Linked DNA regions of Homo sapiens: regions 1 and 2 are each linked to region 3. Evidence: promoter capture Hi-C in 16 types of primary human blood cells and fetal thymus (Javierre and others, 2016). All regions are on one chromosome and are shown on one strand. The core of a region is centred on a gene start or on the middle of the fragment in contact, and the rest is flanking DNA. Distances in the headings are between cores, read along the strand shown. Region 1 holds the start of MYH7 (myosin heavy chain 7). Region 2 holds the start of NGDN (neuroguidin). Region 3 overlaps DHRS4-AS1 (DHRS4 antisense RNA 1).

The links. Contacts are between HindIII fragments. The CHiCAGO score rates a contact against its expected background, and 5 or more counts as called.
Region 1: the fragment with the promoter of MYH7 here is called in contact with a fragment that was not itself captured in region 3 in 1 of 17 cell types (M0 macrophages); the score reaches 5.0 in M0 macrophages.
Region 2: the fragment with the promoter of NGDN here is called in contact with a fragment that was not itself captured in region 3 in 1 of 17 cell types (total CD8 T cells); the score reaches 7.1 in total CD8 T cells.

What each region holds. Positions count from the first base shown.
Region 1 is chr14:23,433,836-23,438,554 of GRCh38, forward strand. MYH7 (myosin heavy chain 7) reads right to left here and starts at 1,825. Exons shown (of 40, transcript NM_000257.4): 1 at 1,785-1,825; 2 at 359-414. RefSeq lists enhancers at 1,685-2,522, 3,543-4,719, 4,300-4,719. The HindIII fragment of the contact is 1,386 bases long and covers 1,704-3,089 here.
Region 2 is chr14:23,467,820-23,472,773 of GRCh38, forward strand. It overlaps NGDN (neuroguidin), which reads left to right and starts at 1,884. Exons shown (of 11, transcript NM_001042635.2): 1 at 1,884-1,908; 2 at 2,223-2,282; 3 at 3,087-3,158. The coding sequence starts at 1,897. RefSeq lists a silencer at 1,511-1,560 and an enhancer at 1,647-2,587. The HindIII fragment of the contact is 20,849 bases long and covers 1-4,954 here.
Region 3 is chr14:23,935,492-23,940,184 of GRCh38, forward strand. DHRS4-AS1 (DHRS4 antisense RNA 1) reads right to left here. Exons shown (of 2, transcript NR_023922.2): 2 at 3,240-4,693. Among named protein-coding and RNA genes, the nearest start is that of DHRS4, 16 kb to the right of the region's middle. The HindIII fragment of the contact is 885 bases long and covers 1,885-2,769 here.

The DNA of each region.
Region 1 (4,719 bases), core at 575-3,074, 500 kb before region 3:
CATGCTCAAGAGTCAAGAGGAGTTACCAGTGAGTCCCTTCCTCTTTGAGGTTACCCCTTAACCAGAGGAGCAGCCTAGCAAACCTGCCAGGGTAAAAGGAACAACTAACTATTGTTCAAGCTGGGGCTCTCCTAGGGGAAGGAAGAGCATTCTGAGCTCCCTGTAGGAGCAGAAATCTAACTATTTCCATCTCTGACCCTCATCTATCCCTGGACCCCCTGGTCACAGGTAAGTAGCTCTTGATAGCCAAGATATTCTCTCCAGCACATGGCAGAAACTAGAGTTCCATAGGCTGGCTTTGGGGCTCTAATGCCCAGTCTTACTAGATTTTCAACACTCTAGCTTCAGCTTTTCTTACCTGGGCTACTCAAGTGTGTCTACAGATGAGGAAAGGGGCCAAGGCCTGCAGGGGACCTGGAGAGAGGGAAGAGGCTGTGTCAGGGCAGGCTGTGCCCAACCTGACCAGTCCCACCTTCCTGCTTCTCCCTGGCTCTGTTCTTCAGCATCCACCCTCTTCCAAAACAAGGTGGAAAGGGTGGTCAGCTTCTCTGGTCCCATCCTTCTTGTTTTTCAAACCCTATTCCCTTTTTCCTCAAGAACTAGTTCTAACAGCTTCCTGGTGTCAACTCAACCTGAACCCTAATCCTCTTCACTCCTGCGAGATGGTCCCACCCCTGCCTGTACCCATCTAGTGGTACCTTTCTTTGAGCCATCTGAGAGACAACTAATGGTCACATTTGTTCGGCACTTTCCAGTCTAAAAGCACTTCAATGCACTTTCTCCTACTCAGTCTTCACCCCATTTGACAGATGAGGAAATCGAGGTTAAATGGCTTGCTTGGCCAAGAGCCCATGACAACAAGTGGGAGAGCCAAGACTTGAATGCAAGTCTGATGACTCTAAAGAGACTTCTTTTCCATCCTGTCCCCATTTTGTTGTCAGACTTTGTGGACATTCTCAGAGAGAAGACACTGTGGGCTTCCTCTCACAGACACACCCATCACATAGCCAAACACCCTCCACAAGCCCTCTGATGAACACTCATGCCTGCTGCTTGGGCATGCCTCTCACATGAAGACAGGCTTCCTTCCCATACCTCAATCCGCACCCCAACCCCAGGGTGCCATATATGCCTCAACAGCAAATGTGCACATTTCAGGATGTGTGCCACGTAAGTAGATCACATCACTGCGTGTTCTTCAGTACACAAAGACCTGGAACATCCTACACCCCCGTGCCTGTGAGTTCCTTCTGCAGAGGGTACAGATACTATAACAGTCATGACTCGTGGAGGCATAGACAAGAACCTCTGCATGCATGGACAGGGGTAGCTACACATTCCAGGCCTCACAGAATCACATGAAGGCATACACACTTCCTAGAATCCTTCTCCACCATTCTTTCTCCCTCCCTGCAAAGGAACCTCCTCGTTCACAGACGTGATCATACACCCACATCTCCCACTTGATATTTCTGTATCAGTCAGTGAGGTACATACCCTTTCTCACATTCAGACTATGCAGGCTTGTCCACACACACACACACACACACACACACACACACACCCTGTAATGCATATTGGTCCCATATGCTCAGATGCAGATATCTTCCCCTAGGAACTCCTGTGGCACATACGCCCATGTTTAGACCTGCACATGTGTGCCCAGTGACTGGACCTGGTACTCTGCATGAAGTCCTGCATGAAGCTTGCTATTCCAAGAGGAATCCCTTCCTAAGCCTGGAGCCCCCTTATCCCAGAGTAAAGCCTCCAGCTCCCGCTCCTACCTGAGAGCAGCAGGGAAAGACACAGAGCAGGACAGAGCTGTGGAGCCAGACCTGGTCTCAGGGGCTGTATATATGGGGCAGCAGGGCACCCCCACCCCCAACGGCACCCAGTCCCTAGCCGGATTTAGAAAGGGCTGTTGTCACTAGAAGCATTTCCCCCAGGCTCCCCCCCTTCCCAAACAGTGCTCCCCTCCCCGCCTCTCCAGCTAGGAAACAATTGGAAGTGGTCGTCATTGTTATGGCATGGACTGTGCAGGGTCTGAGTTCCAGGGGGCGGGGTGGCTCAAAGTGCAGCAAAAATATCTCCCAGGCCAGGCCTCACATTCCACAGCTGGCAGGAGAGGGAACTGACCACGACCACCAAGACCACAGGCAGCCAATGTCCTGGCTCTCCCGCAGGGCACTTCTGGCCCTGGACACTGCTCCCCCTCCAGTCCCCTGCTGCGAGGCCCCTGATGGCCTGGCCGCATTTCCACAGTGTCCTCCCTGCTCTCCTGGCCCAGGTCCTGTATCCAACTGGAAGCTGGGAAGGGGCTGAGTGTCAGCAGCAGAGAAGGGTAGGACAGAGTTGGGGGCATGGCCCCAGGGTGAGGCAGCTAGACTGGGGCAGCTGGAAGGACATTTCCTAGCCAGGTGGCAAGAACAATAACCATGGAGCTTAGAGATGGGGACTCTGGCTCAGGCACTGATTTCCTTGGACCAGCAGGCAATGTGTTGAGGTCACCAAGCCTCCGAGCCAGACAGGCCTTTAGCAATCCATCCAAGCACTTCATTTAATGGAGAGGGACAGTGCATTCTTTAAGGTTATACAGCTAATCGGGGCAGCAGGATTCAAGGTGGGAAACCTCAGCAGATGGGAGTGGAGCCCGGCCTGTGGAGGGTAGCCTGGAAAGGTGGGCTGGGATTCCAAAGATGTGGGGACCCCCTATGCGCAGAGAGCAGGACCCAGCTGCATTGGTCCTAGTTTGGAGCGGTTTGCCTGACTCACGTTCCTGGCTCTGCCCCACAGGTACTAAAGGCCTGAGCCCAGAGACAGACCCTCTCAGAGCTATAGATAATACAACTACTTGGAGCTGGAAGGAGACCCCTAAGACAGCTGTTGTCTGGCCCACCCAGCCTCAGCTTTATCCAGAGCTGGAGGCGACTAGTGTTCTGGCAAGTGAGGCAGAGTAACAGGACAGGAAAAATCTTCCCCTCTGCAGGCCTGAGGAACAGCCACAAAGGAGGGGAGGAAAGGGAGCTGGGGCCCAGCCTACGAGCACAGAACACAACCGATGCCATGCTCTTCTAGCAACGGGGCATGCAAGCTTGACTGGCTCCGTGTCTAGGCAACCACTGCACGATTTGGTGTGAAATCTCCCCCTTCTTCCCAAGCACAGCTCTTCCGCGCATGCGGATTAGTCCATCTGATTAGCTGTCAGCTTGGAAGGAGTGAGGCAGGCCTGGGGGATGGGTGCAGCAGGTACATTTTGAAGGTGGGGTGGGCATAGCAGGGAAGGGAAAATCCAGGAGGAGGCCTCTGTGGGGGTTGCTTGGTAACCAAGGCACTAAGGTACAGTCTGAGGACATTGAGCAGCTATAAGGGGGGTGCAGGCAAGTGGGGGTAGACCACGAACTGCAAGGGCTGTGTCTGACAACACCGCAGCTCTGCAGTGCTAAGGTATACAGTTGCTGAGGTTATCCCAGTAGTCTGTGCTACTAACATGCCCGGCAGAACAGACTCTGGCAGTCCCCCCCAGGCCCTGCCAGGTGCTGAGGAATCAGCCCCATTGACAGAGACAGACCCTCTCAAAGCTATAGATAATACAGCTGCTTGGAGCTGGAAGGAAACCCCTAAGACAGCTGTTGTCTGAGGTTCCCTGTAGGAACCTCAAGGATTGGCGATGAGGGGCAAAAACTCCTTTCGTCCCCACCTTCCAGCTTTCCAAGCTCCAAACTGCCACCCCTCCCTGATTTCCCAGGGCAATTAAGATGCACAAAGGGTGCTTGGGACGTAGTTGAGCCATTTCAAAGCCAGTGTCTTCACCACAGGCCAGCGTCCTTCCTTGGCTGGGGACTTGGGTAGTCTTTTCTGCATTTGGGAAATCAATCACACTTTGTTTCTCTCCTTTCGGGTTTGGGAGGCTCTGGTCTGTTGGTGTTTGGGTGTTACTGTTCTCCACCCATGCCCCCTCTCATTGCAGATAGAACTCACCTCCCTAACTAGGCTTTGCCTCACAGCTCAGACAGATCAGAGGGCCTGCTGTCCTTAAAGATCCCCACTCACTCCCTAGCTCCTCCAGCACCTGCTCTTGGTTACATCATGATTCTCTTCCTGCTGCTTGCTGCTGTCTGAAGACTGAGCAGCTTTGCAGATTCCTCCATTCAACAAGTATTTATTGAGTGCCTACTATGTGCCAGGCATTATTCTGGTCAATAAGGACATAACAATGACCCAAAGAAAGATCCCTGCTCTGGACTGCTTTAGTCAACTGTTTGTAGAAATGGCATCCAGGCCTACCCTTTGCACACATGCACATTCCTTGTGGGGAGAGTGAGGGGCCAGGGGCCCCACCATGCTGGGGTGGGTGGGGATTGTGCAGAGTGTGCTACAAAGTGATAGCAAGATAAAGGAGAGCAAAGCAAAATGCTATAAATAAAGAGAGGCTGGAAGGAGGGCCGCTTCGGCAAGGTAGACCAAATAAGGCCTGAAGTGAAAGGAAGGTGATCTGTCCCCCGTCCTCCCCTCCCCGCATTGTGCCGGCTTTGTCTGCACTCTGTCACCACCCTGATCAAGTGTCAAGCCAAAACAGGGGCCATTTGCTGTGAACACGCCAGCGGTAGTTCAGAGGAAAAGTTGCTAAAATTACTCCCAGTAATTGTGAGGGAGGGAGACACCAGGGCGAATTAGAAGCGATGTCAGCATGGAGAGAGGGGAATCAGAAAAAAGCTCCGG
Region 2 (4,954 bases), core at 634-3,133, 470 kb before region 3:
CCCAGCTACTCAGGAGGCTGAGGCAGGAGAATCGCTTGAACAGGGAGGCAGAGGTTGCAGTGAGCCAAGATCGCGGCACTGCACTCCAGCTTGGGCAACAGTATGAGACTCCGCTCAAAAAAAAAAAAAAAAAAAAAGGCCGGGCGCGGTGGCTTACGCCTGTAATCCCAGCACTTTGGGAGGCTGAGGCGGGTGGATCATGAGGTCAGGAGATCGAGACCATCCTAGCTAACATGGTGAAACCCTGTCTCTACTAAAAAAAAAAAAAAAAAAAAAAAAATCAGCCGGGCGTGGTGGCAAGTGCCTGTAGTCCCAGCTACTCGGGAGGGCGAGACAGGAGAATCGCTTGAACCCGGGAGGCGGAGGTTGCAGTGAGCCGAGATCGCGCCACTGCACTCCAGCTTGGGCAACAGAGCGAGACTCGGTCTCAAAAAAACCCAAAATATGGCAGTGCAATTTGTTTTCTCATTGCTATCATAAAGCATATGAACAAACTAAATTTCAAATTCCCCGAAAAGGAAAAGTTTATTGCTGATCTAATTAGACAGGTCCGAAAATTTATGTAGAAATAGAAACTTTTCATAATACAAATCTTGATAAAACATTACAAAAGCTACTGGATAATTGACTAAGTATGCTGCAACAGCATCCTGAGCTTCCACAGTGGGCCTGAAGCAGCAAATTAAATGTTAGAGGAGTGGGGACTGAACACCCTCCTGCCTTCTTGAATCCAGCAAGATCTAGATACCAGGATTTCCTTACCTCACCTGCCCAGATACAGGTGTTATTCTTAATTCCAAAAGACAGCTTCAAGTCGGTAAGATCTGATTTCTAGACCCAGCTCTGTTGGACGAGTTGTGAACAAAAAATTATACACTATCATTCACCCTTTCGGTGCTTTATTTCCTAAGGCATGGGATGGGAACAATGAGTATCCGTCCAACCTACTTCACCAGCTTGTGAAAAACCAGAGTGAGAGAACACATCTGAAAGCACTGGGTAATGATGAGGCAGGTTATACTGAAACATGCACTGCCAGAGTTTGAACCAAGTTCTGCTGAAGACCTGTGTGACCGCGGTAAGTCATGTAAATATGAACCGTTCCCCAATTTGTAAAACGTATTCTTTTCATGTCCCCAAACTGGTAGGAGCGAAGAGTGTCGGGGCGTTATTGGAGCCGTTTCTCAGCGCTCCACAGTGCACACCAAGAGGGCAGGTGTCCTCGCACTCGGTTTCTAAACTCTGGCTCTGGGCTTCTCTAGCCTCGCTCTCTTATTTACAGATGAAGAAGGCTCAGAGACCGAGTGACTTGTCCACGGTCACACAAGGAGTAGTGTTACAGAATCGATTCCAGGGCCACCGGGTCTGTAAGGCATTTGGCGCGGTGGCCGTTGGATGAGCAGCCAGCAATGGCGGCTCTGCAATGTCGACACCGCAAAGCCAAGCCAAGGCCCATCACCTAGCGGCCGGTTCACGCACTACAAGAAAAGTGCCGTGAAAAAAGACTCTGGGTGCTGCGGCAGACGGGAGCCAATACGCGCTAAGTTCGCTCTGCTAATTCCTTTTTTCTATTGGTCCTTCCAACTGTCAATCAATTATTTGACTGTCTCTTATTGGCTTGCCGTCAATCATTTTACTCAGTCTACCAATCACACGCTCTTTGCCAAGTGCTTTTTTTCGTCCTGACGACTCTTTCTGAGTCTGACGAATTTAGCCAGTTCCTTTATTCCATTGGCCAGATCAGACTCCTCCTCTCGTTTATCCTGTTGGGGGCGGAAGTGAGAAAGCCCTTATTCGTATTGGCTTAGATTTGCAAGCGGCAGTTGTCTATCAAATCTATCAAGTCGCCCTTAGCGCTCAGGAAGTACGACACCGGAAGGGGTGGGCTTTGCGAAGATGGCGGCGCTGGTGAGTTTGGTGTGGTTTCTTCCTCGCGTAGCTATTGTGGAGTTGTCCTTTGCCTTCAGCGGCTGGAGGCAAACTGTTGGTACCAGGGAAGGGTGGTGATGAAAGTTGCTTCAGGGAGGCGGCCTCCCTAGAGTTACCGTTCCTGTCCGGTAACCCAAGGGGCTGGCTTTAAGGCGAGTCTGTGAACCCGAGTGTGAAGGCCCCGAGTCTGGGTGTCTGACGGAGAGAGGGCAGTTTCCCACCCTAGACGTTCCACTTTCCTATAATCCTGAGGAAAGAATGACTTTTCTTTACGCCTCCTCTCCCTTCTGTAGGGGGTGCTGGAGTCCGACCTGCCAAGTGCCGTGACACTTCTGAAAAATCTCCAGGAGCAAGTGAGTAGTGTCGCCTCTGGAATAAATTAGTCACGGATTGGCTTTGAGTTTGTGTACTTCACCTCAAAACTTTGGTGATTGAGATACGTGAATGCTTCCAAAAACCTTAGAGTAAAATGATGTAATCAAAACCTTTTCACGCCAGAATTCTAAGTAATTGATTCTGCACCCAAGGGAATACAAGAAACTCCAAAAAGAAATTATATGAATAGTTTTCCTTTATTCATATAGCTAAGGAAACCAGTGCTTGGAATGGTAACATGACTTGCCCTTTGGGTGCCCAGGTAATACACACTTATATACAGATGCTTCTCGACTTAACGATGGAGGTTATGGCCTGATAAACCCATTGTAATTCGAAAACCTCATAAGTCGAAATTTAGGCTTGATGCCGCTGCCCAGCATCACGAGAAAAGGACGGTTTCTACCGAATGCATATTTCTTTTACACCCTCGTAAAGTGGAAATTAAGTCATAAGTCGGGGAGTTATGTAGTTCTATGCATTGTAAGTTCAACTAGTACAAACAAAATTACAGTGCTTCAGTCACTACTCTCTCAGTCCTTTTCTCCTCCCTGTGGTTCAGTAAAAGATGGTCTCTTCTTTAAGAAGTGGAAAGTTTTTTTTTTTTTAAACTTTTTGAAGAACCATCTCTCCTATGCTTTCCGAGAAGTGAGAAGATAGTACTATACTTTAGACAGTGTTTCAGATAATTTTTAGGTGGCATTGTTTAGCTTTTGCTCTTCACAGTTTGCAGACATAATTTGATATAATCTAATCACTTGTTTTATTTGGGCTAATTTCAGGTGATGGCTGTAACTGCACAAGTGAAATCACTGACACAAAAAGTTCAAGCTGGTGCCTATCCTACAGAAAAGGTAAGATGTACTCAAACAGTAAGCATCCCCTGACTTAATGTTCTCAGTAGTTCTTTCATTGTATGTTTATTGTGTCTTATATATCCTAAGTGCTCGAGCTTCAAACATAAATATGATCCAGTTTCTGTGCTGAAGTCTAGAGGGAAGACAAAGCAAAGCAATAGATGTAAGTATTAATAGTAGCAGTCACATTACAGAGTTATGAGTCTCCAGCCAAAGAGAGGGATTAATTAACTGCCAGAAGAGCAGAGGGATTCAGGACAGGCTTCCCAGAGGAGGTGATAGGATTTTGAGGAATAAATGGGAGGGACAGAAAGAAGGAACATGTGCAAAGGCACAAAGGCCTGAAAGTATGGTGATAAGGGAAAGGAGTAAGTCATTTTTGTGATAGGATGTACTTTCTGTGTTATGTGTGTTGGGGGTAGGAAATAAGACTGGAAAAGTCACTCTGAAGATTACTGTAGGCCAACTGAGGAGTTACTTTCAGATTTCATCTAATCTAAGACACTTATTAATTGGGACATATCACTTATTGTATATATTAAGAAAAAATGTGACAGGCCGGGCATGGTGGCTCATGCCTGTAATTCCAGCACTTCAGGAGGCTGAGGCTGGAGGATCGCTTGAGCTCAGGAGTTCGGGACCAACCTGGGTAACATAGTGAGACCCTACAAAAGTTAAAAATTAGCCGGGCATGATGGCATGTGCCTGTAGTCCTAGCCACTCAGGAGGCTGAGGCCAGAGGATTGCTTAAGCCTGGGAGGTTGAGGCTGCAGTAAGCTGTGATTGTGCCACTGCATTCAGCCTGGGTGACAGAGCAAGACCCTGTCTCAAAAAAAAAAAAAAAATTGCTTATGACATAATACCAAGATGCCAGTGACTGAAACATGCATCCTGATTTCAGAGATGTTAAAATATGAAAACCATGTGCATCTTAAAATTGAAATATGCGCCTGTAATCCCAACACTTTGGGAGGCCAGAGTGGGAGGATTGCTTGAGCCCATGGGTTTGAGACCAGCCTGGGCAATGTGGTGAGACCTATCTCTATAAAAAAAAATTAGCTGGGCGCAGTGGTGTGTGCCTGTAGTCCCAGCTACTCAGGAGGCTGAGGTGAATGGATCGGTTGAGCCCAGGAGGTCGAGGCTGCCATGAGCCACGGTCGCACCATCGCACTGCAGCCTGGGCAACAGAGTGAGACTGTCTTAAAAAAAAAAAAAAAAAAAAAAGGCCAGGCTAAGAAGAAAAGGTGGCTCACACCTATAATTCCAGCACTTTGGGAGATTGTGGCGGATGGATCACCTGAGGTCAGGAGTTCGAGACCAGCCTGGTCAACATGGCAAAACCCCATCTTTACTAAAAATACAAAAATTAGCCGGGCATGGTGGCGTGTGCCTGTCTGTAATCCCGGTTACTCGGGAGGCTGAGGCAGGAGAATTGTTTGAACTCAGGAGGCAGAGGTTGCAGTGAGCCGTGATCATGCCACTGTGCTGCAGCCTGGGCAGCAGAGCAAGACTCCATCTGAAAAAAACAAAACAACAACAATTAAAATATTGTAGTTTTCAAATGAAGGTCTGGTAGAACCTTCTCAGGGATTACTGGTTGGGGGCAATGTGGAAGAACAACTCTGGATCTCTCATCCCTACTTAACTGGAAAACTCTGGTATTATCTGTTTTTATATATTGAGCTTTTGTCCTAAGATATTTAGGCCAAATATTCTATGGGTAAATACAAGTATGAAAATCATTGTAATAAGAGTCACTGAAGGAGTTTTAAGCACAGGAGTTACAGCAGATT
Region 3 (4,693 bases), core at 1,077-3,576:
CCTCTGGGATTCTTAATAGTCGCACAGAATTCCCCACCAGGGATTAATACCCATGCACAGTATTCTGCTTAACAGAGGTGCTGGTGATGCTGATGTGCACCCACTCTCCACGCTGCATCACACCTTCGGGATGTCCAGAATATTCATGCCTACCAGAACATATGGATCTTCTTTGGGACAATATTAAACTCTAAAAATTCCACTTTTTTTAGAGACAGGATCTCACCCTGTCACCCAGGCTGGAATGCAGTGGCACAATCATAGCTCACTACAGCCTCCAACTCCTGAACTCAAGTCATCCTGCCTCCTCAGCCCGCTGAGTAGCTGGTAATACAGGTGCACGCAACCATGATCAGCTAATTTTTTATTTCTTGTAGAGATAAGAGTCTCACTATATGGCCCAGACTGGTCTCAAACTCCTTGCCTCAAGTGATCCTCCCATCTCTGCTTCCCAAAGTGCTGGGATTCCAGGCGTGAACCACTGTGCCCAACTCCCTATAAATTCTTAACTCACAGCCATCTTCATCCTAAATTTGATGAGTTTAGATCTCCCTCCTTGTGTCTTAATCATTCCATCAGATTTTTGAACATATTTTTGCTCTTTTCTAAACGTGTAGACAATGTTACGTCATGCACTGACAAATAAGGGTCATCAGCGGACATATGTGATGGCAGGGATCCCACGACTTCCCTGAGAAGATGAGTCTCCTGCCCTTTCCTTTGCACTACCTTCCAGATTTCATTTCCACTGTACTTAGAAATGATGTCCTCAGCCCTCCACTCATGGCCTCCGGTGGATTCTGGCAGTCAGGACTGCCCCAGGATCCCCACAAATCTGACAAGGATTTGTGTGACGCCTTTGCTAGGTCTCATTGGTTGGTAGTGAGTATGTGGTGTGTTATCTTCCCTTCTTTTAACTACCTTGTCTTTGGGGGTAAATGCAAAGCAATTCTGTACACCTTGCCTCTCTCCATCTAAGCCAAGCTGAGGGTCAGAGTCCTGGCATGACTATCCTGCCCTGTGGTCAGGCACACCTTCTGGCTCTGCTACAAGGCAAACCTGGTCTTCTCGTTTCTGCTAGTCTGCAAAAAAATTAACACTCAACTAACATGACCTTTACACCACACTTATCAACTTTGGCAAAGGGAAGCCTGAACTTTGGAAACTGTTTAGTAGGGTTGGCTGCCCAAGAAGTCAAAGACCAGCCTAGCCAATAGTATCAAAATTGACTGTGTTCTTTACAGCCATAACTAACACTTGTTGTTGTTGTTGTTGTTTGTTGTTGTTGTTGTTGTTTTTGAGATGGAGCCTTGCTCTGTCACCCAGGCTGGACTGTAGCGGCCCGATCTCAGCTCACGGCAACCTCTGCCTCCCAGGTCCAAGCTATTCTCCTGCCTCAGCCTCCTGAGTAGCTGGGACTACAAGCACATGCCAGCAGACCCAGCTAATTTTTTTGTATTTTTTTTTTTTTGGTAGAGATGGGGTTTTGCCACATTGGTCAACCTAGTCTCAAACTCCTGACCTCAAGTGACCCACCCACCTTGGCCTCCCAAAGTCCTGGGATTACAGATGTAAGCCACCGTGTCCAGCCTAGATTTTTATTAACGTATTTTAAGTCACTGTACTCAAATAAGCAATAAGATTTGGAATCTGATCTGCAGTGCTTATTTGGGGGCATCAAGAAGAATTTCCAGCTCAGTGAACTATACCCAAACAGGCAGTTTAATGTAGTATAGAACAGCCAGTATAGAGCTTTCAAACTGGCTCCACACTAAGAAATACATGTTAAATGATAACGGAATGCATGCGCACACACACACACACACACACACACACACTCTCTCTCTCTCTCTCTCTCTCTCTCTCCTACATCACTACAACAGAAGCTTCTTAAAGCAGTGCTGCCCTAGAGGAAGATGAACATGAAAGTGATTTATTAGGAACTATTCCCAGAGAAAAGACATATGGGAGAAAGTAGGAGTAGAAAGGGGCCAAGTAAGGGTACAACATCAAGCCAAGTCCCATGGAAGGCAATTTTGATACATTCCCTCAGAGGGCTTGGGGAACATCATAGGTCACACCTCAGTCATCCAGTGAGAGGGCAAAAGAGCTAGAGTATGTCTATCCCCACCCCCATCAGTCATTGGTTAAAGGCATGAGGGGAGGGAAGGGACATAAATTCCCAGGCACTTCTGGCTCTCTTGTACCTTCCAACAGTATGCTGGCTTTTGGGAAAGAATGCACACTGGGATTCAACTGGTCTACACAGAGATAGCAGAGGGATCCCAGGTGACGTAGGTGGAGCAGGAACAGCTTCTGCTACAAACACCCTAACCATAGGTGATGAATTGTGGTATTTTCTATTCTGATTTTTTAAATTGCTGGTCATCCATTTTAATCTCAATCCAGCCACTTTTAGGTGTTATTTAAACTGCCTGAGGCATTTTCCTCATTTCTAAAATGGGAATATCAACTTTGCTCATTGTGGTGAAAATTAAAAATGACATAGATACCCCTATGTCTATGGGATAACAGTAGGTATTCAACGTGTAGCCATTATGATTAATAAATGTGTCCTCAAAATGCCTCAAAAGAGTAACATGAAAATTTCTTTATCCTCTTAACTGTGCTCAAGACACGCATGCATAAAAACACCAGTGGTGGAGCATGAGTTCCTTCGCAGAGACACGATGCAAATGTGCACAAATATTTACCACCTCCATGACTTTGTTCTTTATTCCCTTTGCCCAACGTAGTGCTCGTCATTCAAGCTTCACCTTAAATGTCCCTCTTTCATGAAGCTTTTTCAGACCCCAACTAAAAATACTCTCTCCCACCTCTGAACTGCCATACTCTTCTATTTGAAGTTATTTTATGGCAATTTTAGCACTTTCTTTTTCCTCTTTGCAATATCTATTAAAATCCTGACTTGGGAACAGACAGACAAATCAATAAAATGAACTAGAGTCCAGAAATAGGCTCAAATACATATGGTAATGATAAAGAAACCAAGGCATGGAAGAGTTACTCAGACAGTGCTGAGACAACTGGTTAACCATTTGGGAAAAAAACTAACCCGGATTTCTATCTCACTTCCCACACAAGCACAAATATCAGATGGCCAAAAGATTTAAACATACATACACACACATTGAATAACTACAGGAAATCTTATAATTGAATATCTTATACTTTTGGAGTAAGAAAGGCCTTTCTAATCATGACACAAAACTCAGAAGCCATAAACAAAAAACTAAATAAATTTATTCCATAAAGATTTTAAACTTCTACAATTCATTAAAAAGACATAAATTCAAAAGTCAAAATGGTAAAAATATTCACAACATATGACAATCAAATGGTTAATTTCCTTTTATAAAGAGTTTATAGGAATAAATGAGAAAGAAGTAAACCCAAATAAAAGTAGACAAAGGTCATGAGCAGTTCATTTAAAAAGAAATACAAATATCTATAAACATACGAAAAGATAATCACCTTAATATCATTAATAATTAATATTTTCTCCCACATCAGCAAAAATCTGCATGTTTGTTAAAGCTGAGTGTTTTAAGGGTGTGATGAAATGGACACCATTACACAGGACTGCCTTTCAGGAAGGTTCTCTGCCACTGGAAAAGGGTACAGCTTTTCTAGAGGGCAATAGGTGATTTCTATTAAAATATCAAAGACACACTCCTTGCCCTTGTACTTCAACTATTTATCTGGGCTTAGTACAAGTTCTCCTAGCTACATGTACAAGGATGCTACTGCAACATCATGCCTTAGAGAAAAAGGCATAGTATATTTGGTATTGTACCAATGTCAATTTCCCAGAATTGATATTATACTACAGTTGTCACCACTGGGGGAAGAGTACTCAGGGACTCTATGTACTACTTTTGCAACTTCCTATGAGACTATAATTACTTCAAAATAAAAAGTGTTTCTTTAAAAAAATCATGGTGCATAAGTATTTATGGTTTCTTACAAAGTATGAAAAGGTAAGGGCAATCCTTGTTTAATTAAATTCAAAATGAGTGAGCAGAACATATGTAACCAGAAGGACAAATCCACCCTTCCCTTTTGTCAAGCACATCTGTGTGAAGAGACCACCAACAGGCTTTGTGTGAGCAACAAGGCTGTTTATTCACTTGAGTGCAAGTGGGCTGAGTCTGAAAACAGAGTCAGTGAAGGGAGATGGGGAAGGGGTTGCTTTATAGGAGTTGGGTAGGTAATGGAAAATTACAGTAAAAAGTGGTTATCTATTGTTAGCAGAGGAGGGGGTCACAAGGTACATGGTGGGGAGATGATAAGACCCATTGTCCAGAAGAAGACTGTCACAAGGTCGATTGATCAGTTAAGGTAGGACAGGGACAGGTCACAATGGTGGAATGTTGTAATGTTGGTTAATCAGTTAAGGCAGGAACTGGCTGTTTTACTTCTTGTGTGGTTTTTCAGCTGCCCCAGACTTCTTGGCTCCTGCAGGCCATCTGGACATATATGTGCAGGTCACAGGGGTTACAATGGCTGAGCTTCGGCTCAGAGGCCTGACACCTCTTACTTCTGAGGGATTGCTCAAGGTAGAAGGTTAATAAATTCTTAAACTACCCCCCACTTTCACTACAGAGATTAAGAGTACAGTTCTGTCCAAGGATTTGATCTGGCCCAACAAAGAGCCTTCTTCAGAAGTGGA